Linked DNA regions of Homo sapiens: region 2 is linked to region 1. Evidence: promoter capture Hi-C in 16 types of primary human blood cells and fetal thymus (Javierre and others, 2016). All regions are on one chromosome and are shown on one strand. Each heading gives the region's core, a stretch centred on a gene start or on the middle of the fragment in contact. The rest is flanking DNA. Distances are from core to core; before and after follow the strand shown.

What was found. The method cuts DNA at HindIII sites, captures the fragments that hold promoters and counts their contacts. A CHiCAGO score of 5 or more calls a contact.
Region 2: a fragment that was not itself captured here is called in contact with the fragment with the promoter of PSME1 in region 1 in 1 of 17 cell types (M0 macrophages); the score reaches 5.4 in M0 macrophages.

Annotation. Positions count from the first base shown.
Region 1 is chr14:24,134,899-24,137,518 of GRCh38, reverse strand. It overlaps PSME1 (proteasome activator subunit 1), which reads right to left and starts at 1,325. Exons shown (of 11, transcript NM_006263.4): 1 at 1,218-1,325; 2 at 502-534; 3 at 314-376; 4 at 88-198. The coding sequence starts at 1,256. RefSeq lists silencers at 992-1,281, 1,332-1,751. The HindIII fragment of the contact is 8,418 bases long and covers 1-1,725 here.
Region 2 is chr14:23,080,889-23,083,508 of GRCh38, reverse strand. ACIN1 (apoptotic chromatin condensation inducer 1) reads left to right here. Exons shown (of 19, transcript NM_001386863.1): 5 at 1,673-1,761. It overlaps LOC124903288 (a long non-coding RNA gene), which reads right to left. Exons shown (of 2, transcript XR_007064077.1): 2 at 1,295-2,620. Among named protein-coding and RNA genes, the nearest start is that of ACIN1, 13 kb to the left of the region's middle. The HindIII fragment of the contact is 1,808 bases long and covers 423-2,230 here.

The DNA.
Region 1 (2,620 bases), core at 76-2,575:
TGCAGAAAGAGAGGAGCTCATGAGAGTCAGGACTAAGGTTGATTACCCCCATAGTTGGATCCCTTCTCCCAGGTCTTCCCAGCTTGCCTCCTGCTGTTTCTTCCGCTCCTCTTTCTCTTTCTCCTTGACTGGATCAGGCACTGGGATGTCCAATGGGGCCTTCAGATTGCTCAAGTTGGCTTCATTGAGAGCTGGCTCCTGGTGTAGGGTGGGAGGAGGGCTGGAGGTGAGGGAGTTCCTCTCACCTCACTCTCACAGCCTCCAGACTCTTCTCTTGGCCTTTACTCCCTAGCTCCCTGCCCAGCCGCGGTACCTTTAAAAATGCATCCAGCTCAGAAATCTTCTTGGGGAAATAGCTCCCGAGCAGGTTCTCTGTCTGTGTGTGAGGTGGGGGTGGAGGAGGATGGGAGTCAGCATCAAATGCCCGTCCTAGGTAGTGAGGCAGGGTTGAGCAGTAGGAGTTGGGCAGGGGTGGGGCCACGCTGATGGGGCATGTCTTACCTTGGTACAGAGGTCTTCACGAAACACATCCACCTGTGGGGCACACGCATCCCTTCAGAAACTTGGCTTTAAGGCCAGTTCATTTGAGGACAGTTCCCTTAGGGTTATGTAGGGCCTGACCTGGGGAAGGGTGGAGGGGATCCCTCTAAGGCCAGACCTGAAGAAAGCGAGATGGATGCCTGTAGGGTGGGTTGGGGTGGTGGAGAAGGTGGATCTCTGCAGACCTGGATCTACGGAAAGTGGAGTGGGTATCCCTGGGGCTGGATATGGGGGATGAGAACATTCCTGGCGGTGAAGGGCCAGTGTTCACGTGAGAACAGATCTCTGGGGTCGCCTGGCAGGTGTGAGGAGGGGTGCTGAGAGTCCTCTGCAAGTAGGACAGGGATGGGGTGGGCCCCGGGACCCTCCCTGAGGGAAAGGCCAGAAGGTAGCTGGGGCAGTCCCGCACCCAGTCTGTGTGTGGCCCCGGCCCCAGGCCAGCGGAGTTCCCCTCCACGCCAGCTCTCCGCTTCACCTCACCCCGCAGAACCACGGCCGCCTCGCCTCTCCCCGCAGGCAGCAGTCGCCGCCCTCCCCGGGGCGCAGGTGCTCCGGGCGCGCCAGCTCGGCCGACTGCCCCCGACTCGCGTGGGAGCCTGGGGGGCGGGTCGGGGATGCCCCCGGCCGCTCCAGCCACGCCTCCCCAGTGGGCCCTTTCTAGACCCCGCGGCGCTCACCTTGGCTTGGGCCTCGGGCTGGACCCTGAGCATGGCCATGACCGGGACGGGGGGCCTAGCGCCGCACAAGGAGTGGAGTGGGCACCGCGAAGGGAAAGCGAAAGCGGTAGGGCGCTCGCACCCAGCTCCGCCTTCCTGGGTAGTGGGGCGGGGAGGGCTGGAGGAGGCGGGGTCGGATGGAGGAGGCGGGGTCAGCCCTGCCATGGAAGGGGCGGTGCCGCAGAGGAGGGCGGCGGGTGAGGCTCCGCCTAGCGCGCACAGGCGCTCTTCACCCACCCTCCCCGCGCCGCCTCGCGAGGGCCAGCTTCCAGGCTCCCCACCTCCGCTGGCCCGGTCCCCGCCTCCCGCCTCCCGCCACCTGCCGCCCGCCGCCTGAGGACGGCGGGTCCGGGTCCTCCCATCGCCAAGCCCAAGCCAGTCTCTCCGCGTCCCAACCTCCACCTCCCGCCTCCCAACTGGCTCCCCACCTGCTCTCTTCTTCCCCTGCTCCGCCTGGGACAGATAAGCTTTACTTAGGGCTCTTCCGTCTTTCCCTAGAGATGGAATAAGACCTGGCCTGTCTTTCCTAGCCTTGCTAGCGTGGGCCTCTGGCTCTGCCGACATCCTGCGCACCTGTAGCAACACCGGCACCAGAGCTGGCAGCATCCCTATCCAAGCCCGGACCAACTCTCTCCTGGACCACGGCTGCAGATGCCATTCTATAACCCACTCTCACGGAGCAGCGGGTTCATGCCTCTCTCTGGCTTAAAACCCTTTCTCAGCTGCCTGTTGACCTTTGAATGAAATCCAAAAGGCTGTCGCACCTGTCTCCCCTTTAAGTCCACTTTCTACTGCTTGCCCCTTCATTCATTACACTTGCAAATATTTGGGCTATTTGTTTCTCAGATGTGTCATGTTCATTTCTGCCTCAGGGCCTTTGCCCTTGCTAATAATCCCTTTGCCTAAAACACCCTTACCCTGGGTGTTGTCATTCGGTTCTCAGTTTAGATGTCACCTCTTCAGAGAGAACTATTTTCATCATCCTTTATAAGGAACCTCCCTCCAAATCTATTACAAATCATCCTGTTTTAGTACATTCATAGCATTTATCTCTCTGATATTAGCCAGGTGTTTTTTTTTTTTTTTCCAGGATAATTTACTGATTTAAACCAGGTTTTGGCAAACGTGTGTGTGTGTGTGTGTGTGTGTGTGTGTGTTGGGGGACGGAGTCTCGCTCTGTCGCCCAGGGTGGAGTGCAGTGGCACCATCTAGGCTCACTGCAACCTCCACCTCCAGGGTTCAAGCGATTCTCCTGCTTCAGCCTACGGAGTAGCTAGGACTACAGGCGCGTCCCACCACGCCCGGCTAATTTTTTGTATTTTTAGTAGAGACGGGGTTTCACCATGTTAGCCAGGATGGACTCG
Region 2 (2,620 bases), core at 77-2,576, 1.1 Mb after region 1:
CGCCTGCCTCGACCTCTCAAAGTGCTAGGATTACAGGCGTGAGCCACCGTGCCCGGCCGCCTAGTTGATCTTAATTCTGGTAGGAAATTTGGAAATCATCTAGTGCAGCCCCTCCTTTTTCTCAATCATGACATTTGAGACTCGGGCACAGTGGTTTATACCTTAATCTCAGCACTTTGGGAGGACCGGGGTGGGAGGATTACTTGAGCCCTGGAGGCTGAGGCTGCAGTGAGCCATGATCATGCCACTGCACTCCAGCCTGGGTGACAGAGTAAAACACTGTCTAAAAAGAAAGATATTGAGACCCAAATTACTTAAGTGATTTACCCAGTTACCTTCCTTCATGGAATTTGAGTGAAACTTTCTTTCCGTTTTACATGGATTTATTGTTCAGGATAACCTAGATTGGTGGTTTCCAAGCTTTTTAATAGAACTTTTTTTTTCCTTAAAAAAAAAAAAAATCTCACCTAGTCCGGGTGCGGTGACTCACGCCTGTAATTCCAGCACTTTGGGAGGCCAAGGCGGGGGGATTGCTTGAGCCCAGGAGTTCGAACCAGCCTAGGCAACATGATGAAACCCCGCCTCTGTAAAAAATACCGAAATTAGCCAGGTATGGTGGCGTGCGCCTGCAGTCCCAGCTGCCCGGTAGGCTGAAGCAGGAGAATCGCTTGAACCTGGGAGGCGGAGGTTGTGGTGAGCCTAGATCATGCCATTGCACTCCATCCTGGGCAACAAGAGCAAAACTCTGTCTCAAAAAAAAAAAAAGAAAAACATGTGAGCTCATGCCTGTAATCCCAGCACTTTGGGAGGCCAAGGCGGGCAGATCACTTGAGGTCAGGAGTTTGAGACCAGCCTGTCCAACAGGATGAAACCCCATATCTACTAAAAATACAAAAATTAGCCAGGCATGGTGGTGGGCACCTGTAATCCCAGCTACTCAGGAGGCTGAGGCATGAGACTGGTTTGAAGCCAGGGGGCAGAGGTCGCAGTGAGGCGAGATTGCACCACTGCATCCAGCCTGGGTGACAGAGTGAGACTCCATCTCAGAAAAAAAAAAAAAAAAAAAAAAAATATTGAGCTCTAATACATAAAACCTAATAGACAGGACCCAATTCTGAAACCCCATCCAGTTGGCTTGAAGTAATTTCAGGAACTTTAGGGCGCTGAAAAACATTCCTCTAAGTATTTATTTCTTGAGTTTGTTATTGTGCAAATTCATATATTTCATCATAATATTTTGGTTGAAATTAGAAAGTAGTAGTAATAGGCAATCCAAAAAAATGGATACAGAACATAATGAAGTCTTAAACTTTATTCAGAGTAAGAACACTTTGTAGAAATAAGTACACTTCATATTTGTACATCCCTGCTAGACAGTTTGAAGCCCCTGGAAATTATTTTACATTTATTTGAGTTATTTATAACATGTGAATTGGCTTCGAGGTGTTGAAAATATTCTAGACTTGCACACCAAGAATTACCAATAAGACCCTGACCTAGTTAGGGCTTTTTGTAGTCTTTTCTTTAGTGTAGAAGTCAAAGAAACCGATACAGATATGTCTTGATAGGCTCATATGCTATAATTGGTTGGATATTAGAAAGCCTGATTTTTAAAAAGCCATGAATGAGTCTTCACTTCATGAATCTGACTTGATTCTTTTTCATTCAATAGGAAAAAGCTCCTCAATTTCTGAAGAGAAAGGTGACTCTGATGATGAGAAACCAAGGAAAGGAGAAAGACGATCATCTAGGGTCAGACAGGTAACTCAGATACCTCCTAAAGCATTACCTCTTCAGTAATGCTTTGGATATCTTCTCTTCTTCAGACTTGTTTTGAGTTTGTATGTCTCTACATTTAGGGGTTTTGTTTTTCTTTTTTGGGACAGAGTCTGGCTCTGTCGCCTAGGCTGGAGTGCAGTGGCACAATCACAGCTTACTACAGCCTCGACCTCCTAGGCTTAAGCAGTCCTTCCACCTCAGCCTCCCAAAGGATTGGGATTACAGGCATGAGCCACTGCCTGGCCTCTAGATTTCTTTGTGGTTATCTTCCTTCTCCTCTTTGTCATCTTTTTGTTGTTCGTTTTGTCTTTTTATTTAGATCTGCTCTGCCTTTTAGATTTCTAAGTGAATATTTTTTAAAAGTTTAAATTTGAAAATTAGCAGGCTGCTCTGTATTCTTAAAGCACATTATTAGACAAGATATGACATAATTAACCATTCAATCAAAGCTTTAAAGTTATATAACACTAAGTGGGCAGAATACAAAAATGTTATGTGTAGTGTAATTATGACTGTACAAAGGAAATGATTAGAGGAAAGAACAAAAAGAAATATACCAAAATGATAAAAAGATAATCGTATTAATTGATAGTAGGTTAGTTCCTTTCAGCCCCCTATCCACCCTTTTACTTTCCAGATGTTCTGCTAATATTTTACTGAAAAAAAAAAAAAGGGGGTGCTTGAAGCTAAAATTTAAACTACATACAAGTAGCTTCATTGTGATATTTCTTTTGGTCACTTTGTTTTGATTCCCCTAAGGGCTACGTTAGTCATGATTGTCTCCTGTCACTCCTGTTTCTGTTGCTGAAAGTATATATCATTGAATTTCTCCTTCCTAGGG